Regions from separate parts of the Homo sapiens genome. Here all the other regions are linked to region 5. Evidence: promoter capture Hi-C in 16 types of primary human blood cells and fetal thymus (Javierre and others, 2016). All regions are on one chromosome and are shown on one strand. Each heading gives the region's core, a stretch centred on a gene start or on the middle of the fragment in contact. The rest is flanking DNA. Distances are from core to core; before and after follow the strand shown. Region 1 overlaps MYO1D (myosin ID). Region 2 overlaps MYO1D (myosin ID). Region 3 overlaps MYO1D (myosin ID). Region 4 overlaps MYO1D (myosin ID). Region 5 holds the start of CDK5R1 (cyclin dependent kinase 5 regulatory subunit 1).

The links. The method cuts DNA at HindIII sites, captures the fragments that hold promoters and counts their contacts. A CHiCAGO score of 5 or more calls a contact.
Region 1: a fragment that was not itself captured here is called in contact with the fragment with the promoter of CDK5R1 in region 5 in 12 of 17 cell types (total B cells, naive CD8 T cells, naive B cells and 9 more); the score reaches 11.6 in total B cells.
Region 2: a fragment that was not itself captured here is called in contact with the fragment with the promoter of CDK5R1 in region 5 in 5 of 17 cell types (naive CD8 T cells, M0 macrophages, M2 macrophages and 2 more); the score reaches 6.6 in naive CD8 T cells.
Region 3: a contact is called between a fragment that was not itself captured here and the fragment with the promoter of CDK5R1 in region 5, in 2 of 17 cell types (endothelial precursors and naive CD8 T cells). The highest score is 5.6, in endothelial precursors.
Region 4: a fragment that was not itself captured here is called in contact with the fragment with the promoter of CDK5R1 in region 5 in 14 of 17 cell types (M0 macrophages, naive B cells, M1 macrophages and 11 more); the score reaches 10.8 in M0 macrophages.

What each region holds. Positions count from the first base shown.
Region 1 is chr17:32,628,905-32,631,604 of GRCh38, reverse strand. All of the region lies in intron 20 of MYO1D (myosin ID), which reads left to right. Among named protein-coding and RNA genes, the nearest start is that of CDK5R1, 140 kb to the right of the region's middle. The HindIII fragment of the contact is 3,506 bases long and covers 1-2,700 here.
Region 2 is chr17:32,697,859-32,700,558 of GRCh38, reverse strand. The region is part of intron 16 of MYO1D (myosin ID); the gene reads left to right. Among named protein-coding and RNA genes, the nearest start is that of MYO1D-DT, 180 kb to the left of the region's middle. RefSeq lists a silencer at 1,029-1,229. The HindIII fragment of the contact is 7,050 bases long and covers 1-2,700 here.
Region 3 is chr17:32,726,594-32,729,293 of GRCh38, reverse strand. All of the region lies in intron 14 of MYO1D (myosin ID), which reads left to right. Among named protein-coding and RNA genes, the nearest start is that of MYO1D-DT, 150 kb to the left of the region's middle. The HindIII fragment of the contact is 9,933 bases long and covers 1-2,700 here.
Region 4 is chr17:32,665,680-32,668,379 of GRCh38, reverse strand. All of the region lies in intron 16 of MYO1D (myosin ID), which reads left to right. Among named protein-coding and RNA genes, the nearest start is that of CDK5R1, 180 kb to the right of the region's middle. The HindIII fragment of the contact is 5,410 bases long and covers 1-2,700 here.
Region 5 is chr17:32,485,641-32,488,340 of GRCh38, reverse strand. CDK5R1 (cyclin dependent kinase 5 regulatory subunit 1) reads right to left here and starts at 1,348. Exons shown (of 2, transcript NM_003885.3): 1 at 1,179-1,348; 2 at 1-865. The coding sequence starts at 720. RefSeq lists enhancers at 262-821, 2,061-2,562 and silencers at 709-998, 1,089-1,348, 1,459-1,988. The HindIII fragment of the contact is 10,728 bases long and covers 1-2,700 here.

The DNA of each region.
Region 1 (2,700 bases), core at 34-2,533, 140 kb before region 5:
TGCAATCATAACTCACTGCAGCCTTAAACTCCTGGGATCAAGCATTCCTGTCTCCTCAGCCTTCCAAGTAGCTAGGACTGCAGATGCACGCCACTACTCTTGGCTAAACTTTGAAAATTTTTTTTGTAGAGACAGGGTCTCACGTTGCCCAAGCTGGTCTGGAACTCCTGGCCTCAGCCAATCCTCCTGCCTCAGCCTCAAATCCCAAAGTGCTGGAATTACAGGCATGAGCCACACCACACCTAGCCAAAGACTGCCTTTTAAACCTGTTTTTTTAATAACAGAATTCTGTGTAGGTTCACATTTACATATGTAGAAGTAAAATTATTCCATCATATGGCACTTGGTAGTTACATCTCTGGTCTGTTTTAGTCCACACTGCACTTCCACTCACATATACCCCTACCCTGTTTTTTTCCCATCATATTGACTTTTTAAAATAGCTTTCTTGAGGTATAATTCACTGTTACAGACTGAATTGTGTTCCCCCAAAATTTATATATCAGAGTCCAAACCCCCAGTACCTCAGAAAGTGACTGTATTTGGAGATGGGGTCTTTAAAGTAGTAATTAAGTTAAAGTGGGATCTTAAGAGTGGGCCCTAATCCAGTATGACTGGTGTCCACATGAGAGGAGATTACAACATAGGTACAGAGGGAAGGCCATGTGAAGACAGAGAGAAGACAGCCATCTACAAGGCAAGGAGAGAAGCCGTCAGAAGAACAACTCTACCGGCAGGGCGTGGTGGCTCATGCCTGTAATCCCAGCACTTTGAGAGGCTGAGGCGGGTGGATCACGAGGTCAGGAGATTGAGACCATCCTGGCTAACAAGGTGAAACCCCATCTTTACTAAAAATACAAAAAAAATAGCCAGATGTGGCGGCAGGCACCTATAGTCCCAGCTAATCGGGAGGCTGAAGCAGGAGGATGATGTGAACCCAGGAGGCGGAGCTTGCGGTGAGCCGAGATCACACCACTGCACTCCAGCCTGGGCAACAGAGCGAGACTCCATTTCAAAAAAAAAAAGGAGGAACAACTCTACCAACATCTTAATTTTAAACTTCCAGCCTCCAGAACTTCAAGGAAATACATTTCTGCTGTTTAAGCCACCTAGTCTGTGATACTTTATCATGGCAGCCCTAGCAAACTAATATATTTACATACCATAAAATTTGCCCATTGTAAGTTATAGTTATTTTTAGTAATTTATGCAGTTGTGCAATCATCACATAATCCTGTGTTAGAATATTACTAGGCTGGACGTCTGTAATCCCAGCACTTTGGGAGGCCAAGATGGGAAGATTGCTTGAGCCCAGGAGTTTGAGACCAGCCTGGGTAAAATAGTGAGACACTGTCTCTACAAAAGAAAGAAACAGATCTGAATACTAGATGTGCTTGTTGCTACCGGGGATTCATTTCTTTTAGGTCCTCTCAGCTGGCACAGGACAGAAATATATGTGTATAATCTGTGTATATACACATCTTTATAAATATTTTTATATGTGACCATCTTTATATGAAGTTAAACATGAGTTTATACTAGTGTCTCTCACTCTAGTCCATGACCACATGAGTCATTCTAGCCTTCCCCCATCGCTTATCTTTAAATTCCCTGTCCAAAAGTGAGAAACCTGGCTTGCACCATCCACTGTCCATTTACCTAATTGTTCATTTCCAGTATCCATGCATAGCAGTATCAGAATTGTTAACCTGTACTCCTGTGAGGCACGACTTTATCAAATAGAGTACAGTGCTACATGCACTTCCTTTTCCCTTTAGTCTTACACACTCCACTCATTTCCAAAGTTACCTAGGTCAGCACCTTTTCTTTCCGCCCTCTTCAGTGAGATTGATACCTTTTTTTTTTTTTTTCTTGAGATGAAATCTCGCTTTGTCACCCAGGCTGGAGTGTAGTGGCGCAATTTTGGCTCAGTGCAACCTCCGCCTCCCGGATTCAAGCAATTCTCTGCCTCAGCCGAGTAGCTGGAATTACAGGCGCCCGCCACCACGCCTGGCTAATTTTTTTTGTATTTTTAGTAGAGACGAGGTTTCACCATCTTGGCCAGGCTGGTCTTAAACTCCTGACCTCATGACCCACCTGCCTTGGCCTCCCAAAGTGCTGGGATTACAGGCGTGAGTCACTGTGCCTGGCCCATACTTTTTAATATAAGTGGATTCTCTTGTCACATTTTGCATTCCTTCCTGAAACCCCCCAACCTCCTAATTTTTTTTAAGTTGCCCACAAAGGTTCACTCTTGATGCTGTTGAGTTCTGTAGGTTTTGGCAAATGTATAGTGTCATGTATCCACCATTACAGTATCACACAGAACAGTTTCACTGCTCTAAAGATCCTGTGTGCGTAACCTGTTCATTCCTTTCCCTCTTTCCCCTGAACCTACGGGAACCACTATCATTTTACTGTCTCTACAGTTGTGCCTTTTCTAGAATGTCATATAATTAGAATCATACAGAATGTAGCCTTTTCAGATTGTCTTCTTTCACTTAGCAGTAGGCCTTTAAGGTTCCGTCATGTCTTCCCATGGCTTGTTGGCACATTTTGTTTTTTTAGTCAAGAAATAGTTCATTATATGGAGGTGCCGTAATTTGTTTCTCCATTCACCTATTGATTGCTTCCACTTTTTGGCAACTATGAATAAAGCTACTAAAAACATTTGCAAGCAGGTTTTTTGTATGGACACAA
Region 2 (2,700 bases), core at 33-2,532, 210 kb before region 5:
GGAGTTGAACACTTCGTTCAGTTTTTTCTTTCACATTTATTAGTAATGAACTGTGAAATTTTTTGTGGATCTGCTTCTGCTGTATCTGTAGCAGGGGTCCCCAACCCTTGTGCCACGGACTGGTACTGGTCCGTGGCCTGTTAGGAACTGGGCCCCACAGCAGGAGATGAGCAGAGGGCAAGCAAGCTCCGCGGCCTATCAGATCAGCAGCGGCATTGGATTCTCATAGGAGCAGGAACCCTGTTGTGTGTGAAATGCCCATGCAGGGGATCTAGGTTGTACACTCCTTATGAGAATCTAATGCCTGATGATCTGATGGAACAGTTTCATCCCGAAACCATCCCCTACCACCTCCCAGTCCATAGAAAAACTGTCTTCCATGAAATTGGTCCTTGGTGCCAAAAAGTTGGAGACTGCTGATCTGTAGGACCTGATATATTATTATTTAATTATTTTTTATGTTTACATTTTCTCTTTCCCTGAAAGTTGTTTAAAAAAATTTTTTTAAATCATTTCCAGGTGATACATGTTTTGTGTGTGTATTTTCTTTACTTTTCTAATTTTGTTCTTAATTTTTTAGTTTCACTGCTTTATGATCACAGAATGTTAAATGTTCCATTTCTACTTTCTGGAATTTATTGAGGTTTACTTTAGGGCCTGGTGTACAGTGATTTTTTGTGAGTATAATGTGAAATAAGGTATATGTTATTTTTTAATATTTTTATTATGGAAAATTGCAAATATTCACAAAAATAGGAAGAACAGTTTAATGAATCTCCATGTTTCCATCACCCAGATTCAACAATTAACAATATTTTGTCATTCTTATTTTATCTAATTCCCACCTCATGCTTTTATGTATGTTTGTTTTGGTTTGGTTGAAGTTTTTAAAGAACATCCCAGATATCTTTTGTCACCCTTAAATACCAATCTACAGATAAGGACTTTATAGATAAGGACTTCATACTGTTATCATACCATATAAAATTAATAATTAATAGTTTCTGTTCATTGTTCCCAGTTGACTGGAAACTATCTTTTCACAGATGGTTAGGGATAGGCGTGGCCACCCCCAGAGCTGAGACAGCATTGAGAAAGGAGCACACTCATCTTTATCAAAGGGCAGCATCAACACCTAAGGCAGTGAGTGGTTCCTGGCAGTCTGACAGTTATCTCTGTCATTTGGGAGTTTTGTTCCCATATATTTCAGAAACTTGATATGTAATATTAATTATGATTTTCAGTGACATATCATTTCATCTTTAAAAATTGAATGTTTTAAAGGTGGCTTATGGGCTGGGCACGGTGGATCATGCCTGTAATCCCAGTGCTTATTTGGAGACTGAGGCAGGGGGATCACGAGGTCGGGAGTTCGAGACCAGCCTGGCCAACATGGTGAAACCCCATCTCTACTAAAAATACAAAAATTAGCCGGGCGTGATGACACAAACCTGTAATCCCAGCTATTCAGGCTGAGGCAGGAGAATTGCTTGAACCCCGGAGGCAGAGGTTGCAGTGAGCCAAGATGGTACCACTGCACTCCAACCTGGGCGACAGAGCAAGACTTGTCTTGAAAAAAATTAAAATTAAAATAAAATAAATGTGGCTTATGTATGGCAAGGAGTGGCGTCTTTAGTTTGTCTAAATTAACAATTTCATATTATTTATATGTTCTTATATTTATTTGTTAAATTTGCATTTTGCATTTTTTATTATTGGATTATATTATGGCTTTAGCTCCCTTATCACAAGAAAGATCTTGTGAAGGATTAAAAGTGGCTCATTAAAGCATAAACATATAATGAAAATAGTAAATTCTGAAACTGAGAATAATATAATAACTGTTAATTATAAGTAGACTCAAAGATTAATATAGTGTAATCATTTTCAGTGAGTACGATAATTTTGTAAACCAGCCAAAAGAAAAAGTATGAATAGAATCATTATCTGAAAATTGGATTTTATTGGTTTTGTCATTCATTTGCCTAATGTTTTATTTGTTAGGAAACTGTCAGATAGAGACATGAAGTGATGGGGGCTTTCATATGATTTCTAAACAAAGCACTCTGACTTCTTTGTAAAACCAATCAAGTGTTTTATTTCTAAGACTAAAAGCAAAATAATTATTTCTCATATAAAATTGATTACTTTTGTCCTTAAAAAAGAAAAGAAGGAAGGAGGGAAGGGGGAGGGGGAGGGGGGAAGAGAGGGAGGGAGGAAGGAAGGAAAGAAGGAAGGAAGGAGGGAAGGGGGAGGGAGAGGGGGGAAGGGAGGGAGGAAGGAAGGAAGAAGGAAGGAAGGAAAAAGAAAAGAGAAAAGAAAGAAAACACAAAACCTACTGATATGGTAGCTAGTATTTCCTGAGTGATAGGCACTACTCTGGATACTTTACTATTCTGGTTATTTAACTAAGTCATTACAAGAACCTTGTGAATGAGTGTCCATTATTATTTCCATTTAATAGATAAGGGAGCTAAAGCCACTGAGTGGTTAAGGACCTTGGCAGAGGTCACACACGGTAAACACCAGAGCTGGGATTTGAACCTAAGAGGCCTGCTTCCCACACACACTCTTTTGACTGCTGTACACTTTTGTACCATAGTGGCATCATTCAAGAAACAGCTATGACTCACACTATTGAAAAGTTTGAAAAACTAGTCACAAAGGTGATGTGTTCAGAGGATGTCCTCAAAGGTGATG
Region 3 (2,700 bases), core at 102-2,601, 240 kb before region 5:
ATTTGCTATGACTATTTGACAGTGTTCAAAGCAAGTTAAATAGAGGTATATTTAGATAGTGTAGTCTAGCTAATCTATATACTGATTGGTGTACTTTCACAAATGGTGTTTTTTTTCCCGTAAAATATATAGGGAGAGACAGGTGAAAAAGTTCAAGAGAATAAGATCACTATTAACTTTTGCAATTTAACCTTTATAAGACACTCTGAATTTGCCAAATTTAGGATTTCTTAGGCTGAGTCAGTCTGGATATTTATAAATGAGAGAGGAGGCAGCATTTATAAATTGAGACAGAATGCTGATTAAATATAGAGAAAGTATTCCCACTATATTCCTTATCCAAAGACTTTTATATCACTAAACAGGATGAAAGGGCTTCCCCCCATTTCTTAGTTGGTTGTTAGTGTCTCATCCAATATTGCCACTTCCTATGCGTAATCACTCAGTACTGGTAATAGTCCATTCAACTATTTTCTGGTTAATAAAGTTGTATTAATACTCTTCATATGATGCCTTATAAGATTGCGTTGCCTACATGATTTTATACATTATTCAGTCCAAAATATTTTCCAAATCACATTGTAATTTCCTTTTTGACCTAAGGTTTAGTTGTTCAGAAGTATTTTTCTTAATTTTCAACATATAGGATTTTCTCATTATCTTTTTGCTCTTGATTTCTAGCTTAGTCTTATTTCATCAAAAGACATACTCTGTGTGGTTTCAATTTTTAGAAATTTGCTAAATTTGCTTTATGTATATGTTTTGTTTGTCTTTAAAAAATAATTTGCAGCCGGGCGCGGTGGCTCATGCCTGTAATCCCAGCACTTTGGGAGTCCAAGGTGGGCAGATCACAAGATCAGGAGTTCAAGACCAGCCTGGCCAACATAGTGAAACCCTGTCTCTACTAAAAGTACAAAAAATTAGCCAGGCATGGTGGTGTGCACCCTGTAATCCCAGCTGTTCGGGAGGCTGAGGCAGGAGAATCACGTGAACCCGGGAGTCCGAGGTTGCAATGAGCTGAGATCACGCCATTGCACTCCAGCCTGGGTGACGGTGTGAGACTGTCTCAAAAAAAAAAAAAAATTGCATTCAATATTCTATACAAGTCCATTAGGTCAAGTTTGCTAATAATATTGTTCAACTTTTCTATTTTCTTCCTGACTTCTTTGTTTTGTAAACATTGAAAGGTGTTTTAAACTCTGCCTTGATTCTGAATTTATCTGCTTGTCCTTATTGTACCTTTGATTTTTTGTGTAAATATTTAGAGAATTTGTTAGGCTCATTCAAGTTAGAACTGTTATATCTTCCTGGTGTTTGAGTCATTTATCATTATGAAACATCTCTATTTCCATATTGCTTTTTGCCTTGAAATCTGCTTTGCATGAATAATATAGCTATGCCAGCTTTTCTTTTGGCTAGAGTTTGCATGGTATATCTTTTTCATCCTTTTACTTTCAATCTTTCTATATCCTTATGTTTCAAGTGTGTCTCTCATAAGTAGCATATAGTTAGCTTTGATTTTTTTAATCCAGTCTGACAATTTTTGTCTTTTGAATAAATCATTTAGTTCATTTACTTTTAATATAGTGTGTGTTGCATTTAAATCAGGCATCTTGTTAATGCTTCTATTTGACTCTTCTGTATTTATTTTCTTTTTTTCTGTATTTCTTTTAGATTGATTATTGTGGGAGAAAGGTAAACAAAACTTTATTCCTTCCCCTTGACAGCTTAACCTCAGTTAAATTTCTAGCTCTGTTCCTCTGGCAACCTAGTAAGACATGTATCACTTAACAACATTACTTATGGTCAGAATTATCCCTGTCAGTAAATTGCATCTGTCTTGGGAGAATGATGTCTGGTGGGTTTTATATACTTTGGGTTTGCCTGAGCTTAGTGACTCCTGTATTAGGTCTGTCCTTTGCTGGACCCTTGAAGCTATGTCTTCTGAGCTGTTCTAAGAGATATTTGGTCCTGTGGGGCATGAGGCTTTTAAGCCAAGTTCACCTCGCACACATGTCCAATGTGGATCTCATCTCCTTACACCTAAGCTGTCACTTGACTGCTGTGTGGACTGCTCCAAGGACACTGACGCTACCTGCTAGCAAACCGTGTTCTTGGCCTTTTGAAGAGATTGGTGCCAAATGTGGCCTATGAGTATTCTGAGTCAAAATGTTTAGTTAGACCTAAGATCATACTCTTTCCCCTCCACTGGTGTTGCAAGTATTTTTTATCATTTTATTTATTCTCTTTATTATTTTGGAAGATTTACTTAAATACTGTTATAGTGGTTACTTGACTTATTGCAATATCATTCTTGAATATAAAAATCTAATGTTATTTGGTACTTTTGCCTCCTTCCTAGGAAATACAAGGCCAATTTAATTCCATTTACCTTCCTCCTAACTTGTATGCTATTTTGGTCATGTATTTTAATTATATACCAAAATAACATGCATGTATTTTAATTATATACCAAAATATATTTGGTCATGTATTTTAATTATATACCAAAATAACATGCATATACATTTTTAAAGCCAGTAAGACATTATTATATCTATTTAGATATAAATATATTTATTATATTAGATATAGATGTTATATCTATATTATCTGTATCTATATTACCTATAGCTATTTATACCTATATGATCTATATTATCTAATATCTATATCTATTATATCTGTTATAGCTATTAG
Region 4 (2,700 bases), core at 51-2,550, 180 kb before region 5:
GTCACACAAGGTCAAAGCCTGACCTGTACTCTTTACCAGGTGGTAAGCCACCTCGCTATCAGACAGAGGTAGACTTGGAGATGGTAGAGGCTGTAGGAGTCTCCTGAAAAAGCTGAAATATTGCCAGACACCACTTTGGATCTGCTCAGATGCTCAAACTCTTGACCAAAACTCTGTAGTTCTACATCAAAATGCAGTTTAGATAGTCTTGAGAGATTTTCAAGATGAATTACCAAGTTTTTACCTCCTCTTTTAAGAAAACAAAACCAAACAAAAGAAAGCAGTCACTTTCCTACAGCTCCACAGAGTGTTTACAAGATTGAATCCTGGAAAATCTGTCAGAGTTACTTAACCTATTATCTGGAGTAATTTTATTTTCATTTGTCTGCAAAATAATTGCGATTTGGGTTTCAATAGTGTTGATATTGGGCTGTTCTTCTGATAGTAATTGACCAAAAGGTTCAATTACTTCTTGAAGTTACAGTTATAAGGAGGCTGTCAGATCATGTCATCATCATAGTGAAGAAATCATTAATAGGCAGCAATTGTGTGCACTAAAGAATTGCAAGGTTAATGAATCTGGACAAGGCCATATATATAAAATGGGCATGTCCTAAACGAAGGTTCATGGGTCAATTAACTCGGCAAGTTAGTCTCCCAGACCAAGGTAAGACAGCTCAGGGGTGGTCACTTCTAAATTATGTTCCACCAAGCACATACCAATACCACCACCTGCAATAGTTAAGTTCATCAGGACGGCTTGTAATGATCAGACTCACATGTACTTTTTGTGTGTGTGTGGCTCTTCATTTTAATGATTTTTACATTTGTTTATTGACTAAAGATTTGGTTCTTTTGTGTCTTAGATTTATCGTATGTCTTCCAAAATATTATTAATTTATCTGTAAAACGAAGGAATTTTGTGTCAGGAATTAAGCTAATAGCCTATAAATTATATTCACTGGATTATATTTTCTTCTTGTTACATATTAACCTGCTAGTCCGGTAAAAACATGAGCACCAGCATTTTAAAAATAGCATATCAAGTCTTTATTCATTTTGTCCCTTATAGAAATGGAAGAGGAATAATTCAGAAAGATTTTTCTGTCTCTGAGTCTTCCTTTAAAATAGCTCTTAGAGCCACACCCTTCATCAGTCAATCATGAAATATCCTAAATTGAATGTGACTGTCATATTCTAAATTTGATGGAATGTGTCCATACCAAATTTTGTATATTTATAATTTGCTCAGAGTTCATTCAACGAGAGTTCATTATTTACATAAATAAACCCTCCTCTACCACAACTTTTTAACAACCGTAAGGTGTCAGAACTCTGCCCAAATAACCATATGGGTTATGTAGACTTATCTCAATGTGGACTCTCAAAGTTCCCCATTATGTAGACTCATCTCAATATGGACATCTCGAAGATCCCCATAGGGGGAACTTAAAGATAGAAATGGAAGAAAGATGCTTCTAAAAATTGTCCTTAGGCATGGAGGACCTGAGAAGCTAGGAGCTGAAATGTTGAACAATTCTGTTTGTGGAAACCAAGAGAATGTCTAATTCAGAGTACCAGGGAGCTGTGAAGTAGTGATTTATATTGACAACAAGACAGAAAGAGCCCCCAATGCCCATAATGACTAGAATTTTGAAAAACAAAACAAAACAAAACATGGGGAACTAGGAGAAAAAAAGGAAAGCTGACCTGTGTTTGATTCTGAGACGAAACGGAAGATACATAATTGCCCTACTTCTTAATAGAGTGCAACCTAGAATCCTACTTTTTTTTGCAAAGTTTAATGACTGTTAGATGTTGCTTTGAAACGTCTGACTGCTGAAGAAGTATGCAGCAGAAGAAAAAATGGTAGAATTAAGATGGCATTATGAAACATCTGGTTAAACATGACAGTTGTGTTTATATCCACTCTCTTAACATCTCGAAAAGAGCAGAAAAGGAATAAAAATTGGATAAACCTACGAGGACAAATAGTACCATAGTGGAAACAACAGAAGACAAGAGGTGTCAGCATAAGTTTAGAAGTAAGTAAATGAGTCGTTACTCCCAGGCAAGTGCCTGCAGAGAACAAGGCAAACAGGCAAGACAGTTTGCCTTGTTCTGACTGTAGGGCTGTAGAAAGATTCTAGACTGGGAAGGACTGGGTGCCTCTGTAGGTAGGGATGAGGGGTGGCCCTGACAGAGGAGGTTGGTTAAAATCTATATAAAGAGGAATTAGACACTAGGTCTCTCCCCAGACCACACAAAGCTAAGGGACTACCTCAGCCTCATTCTGATAGATGGCAAGAAGTTTCTTGTCTGAGTAAATTGAACAGGATTTAGAGAAGTTCTGAACTTAGGGACACCAGGCTTAGTGGAGGAGAGGGGTCAGGTACCATATTGAGACCAAGGATATTAAATGAAAGTATAGACACTGAGGAGTAAGATTCCCCCCACCACCCACCCCAGACCCCTTCACTCTGAGGATTCTGGCAGGAAAGAGAAAACACTTCATGATCCTGACATTCTGGGGTTCCCCACAGATGGCTACTCCCAACCTAATCACCCTGTAGTGAAGTTCCCCATCCATGAAGCACTTATACAGAGCTTCTAAGGGCTGTTCACCCTTCAGTGAGAGTGGAGGGCCAACGATCCCTATACATTTGAGGAAGGCCTTGGGCAAGGCCAAGACTAAGACAA
Region 5 (2,700 bases), core at 99-2,598:
CTCGTTGCCCATGTAGGAGTAGGAGAGGTACAGGCATGTCAGCAGGACGGCCTGGAGCTCGTGATCCGAGCCCACCTCGGAGGAGATAACATCCCTGCAGAGCATGTAGAGGAAGACCACGTTGGCCGGCGTGATGAAGCCCTGGTCCTGCCAGCCCTGCAGAAGCAGCGAGCGGTCCACGCTGCGCAGCCAGAGCACGGGGTCCGTGGGGGACAGGTGCTTCAGGCGGTAGCACCGGCGGCAGAGAAACTCACCCAGGCAGCGAAGCAGCTCACTGGTGGACGCCTGGACGATGACCCGTTTGGGCGTCCCTGCGGAGGTGACGGCAGGGTGAGGGGCTTTCTTGACTGAGGAGGAGCCCCCGGTCTGGGAACCCGAGAGCTGGCTGGCCGGGGGTGCAGGCGGCTGGGCCGGTGGGGGCTGGGCGAATGTGGACAGGTTGGCGCACGACAGCGACTTCTTCAGGTTCTCATTGTTGAGGTGCGTGATGTTGTTCTGGTAGCTGCTGTTGGGCTGCACCTTCTTGGAGTTCTTCTTCTTGGCCGACACGGCCACGATTCTCTTCCAAGGCAGCACGGAGATGATGGAGTGGCGCTTCAGGTTCTTGTCCTTGGCGTTCTTGCTGTTCTGTACGGCCGTATAGTGGCCCACGGTGGCCGCGCCATCCTCAAACAGCGTGGCCTTCCGGTAGCTGGGAGACAGGGACAGCACCGTGCCCATGGTGCTGCTGCGCGCCGGGCGGGGGCTCGCGCCCCTGCGCGCCCAGCCTGCCGGCCGGAGGGATAAAACCGCTCACCGAGCCTGCGGCGGCCCCGGAGAGGAGGCGGGGGCGCTCCCGGGAAGCGTGCTGCCCCCTTGGATCTGCCTGGAAAACAAGATGGTTCTTAGCGCCAGGCTGGGCTCCGCGCCGCGCCCCTGCGCCCCTGCGCCCCTCCGCCCCGCGCCTCGGCGCACCCCGCCGCCCCAGTCCCGGGCCCTACCCGCGCCCCCGCGACGCAGCCTCGCCGCCTCCACTGCAGCACCCCCGCCCGCCGCCGCCGCTGCGGTCCCCAGGCGCAGCCGGGAGGGGCCCGGTCGCCGACGGAGGCGGCCGAGGACCCCCGCCTGGACACCCCGCACGGGCGCGACCCCGGTCTCCGCTCCCCAGGGCCAAGGACGGCCGCCCAGCGCAGGCTTACCCGGCAGGCGGCAGCTCCTGCGCTCCGCGCCCTCCGCAATGCGCGCCGCGGCCCCGCCGCCGCGGTCCCGGCGCTCGGCGGCGCTCGGGGGCGCTCGGCGGGGATCGGCTGGGCTCGCGCTCGGCGGCGGCGACGGCGGCGGCGGCGGCGGCGGCAGCTAGGGAGCTTCTGTCCAAGGTTCTGCAGGCACCGCAGCCCCGCCCCCCGCTCGGCCGCCCGCACCTTCGCCGCCGCCGCCGCGCTCCCGCTCCCGCTCCCGCTTCCGGCGCGCGCCTCAGCGCCCTCCCTCGCGGGGCGCGCGCGCCGTCCACGCTCCGGCCTGGTCTCGCCGGGGAGTCGCGGCCGTTGGTGTCCTCAGCTCGAGCCGCGCACGGTGCGGGTAGGACGCGGCAACGAGCGGGAGGCACCTCTACGCGCCGGGCCCCATCTAGGAGCCGGACTCCGCGGCTGCGGCGGGACACGCGGCGTCGGCCCGCCCCGCCCCTCGGGGCCGCCCCTCCCGCACAGCTCGCCGCCCGCTCCGCGCCGCCGCCCAACAGCAGCCCGGCCGCCGGAGAGTCCTCGGCGCCCGCGCAACCCAACTCTGCCGACGCGGGGCGGGCGCCGAGCAGGGCGGAGCCGAGGGCCGACCCCGCCCGCGTCCCGCCCAGACACGTGCTGCCTTTGTTCCCGCCGCGGCGCCCGCAGCTGCCGGCCGCGGGGGCACTCTCGGCCGAGTCCCTGCCCTGGCAGCGCGCGGCCCGCCCTCTCTGAGGCTGCCGCCCTGGCCTGGTGAGGAGCCCTCCGCCGAGGCCAGGGTCCGGAGCTCCCTCCTTCCACCTGACATCCCCGTCCCTGTGGAAAGCAGCCAGGGAGCGCGGGGAAGAAGGCCCTGGGCGGGGAGAGGCGACGCCTTTACTGAGGCCTCCCGAGTGCCACGCGCACCTCGAGTGGACAGTCCAATCGGTTCTGGCCACCCCTCCGGGGCCTCCGTTCCCTCATCATGGGTAGATGACCGCGGCCGAAGTGGGCCTCAGAGATCCAAGCCAGAGAAGCGTGGCCCGTAGCCAAGCCTGAGCCCGTCACAAATATGACCTCTAAGTTCCCACTCGCCCTCTTATTTGTCATATTAAAGCTGAAGCAACTGCCCCTCCGGCCAGCTTTCTGACCCTCTTAAACGTTTTCAATTCTAAGTATGTATAATTTGAGAACTTGATGCTAGCGAAATTGAGTAAAATTCTGTTTCTGAAAGCTGTTCCTGTCAGATGTGAATCCAGATCCTTCACAAAGGCTGTTGTTCATTTACTATTTTACCTTGTTTCTGGAGATCGAGTCAAAACTGACCACAAACCTGGGAAACAGGAAACTTAAGCCCTGTCTTAATCCAGATTATCTCTGGACCTAGAGATGAGGGAGTGGCTCTCCAGAGGAGAGGATGCCACCCAGTTACCTGACCACTCCAGCCGACTAGGCTTTCACCAGCCCTGTCAACTGTCCTAGGGGGAACAGAAAGGGAATCTGGCATCATTCAAAATGGTGCAAT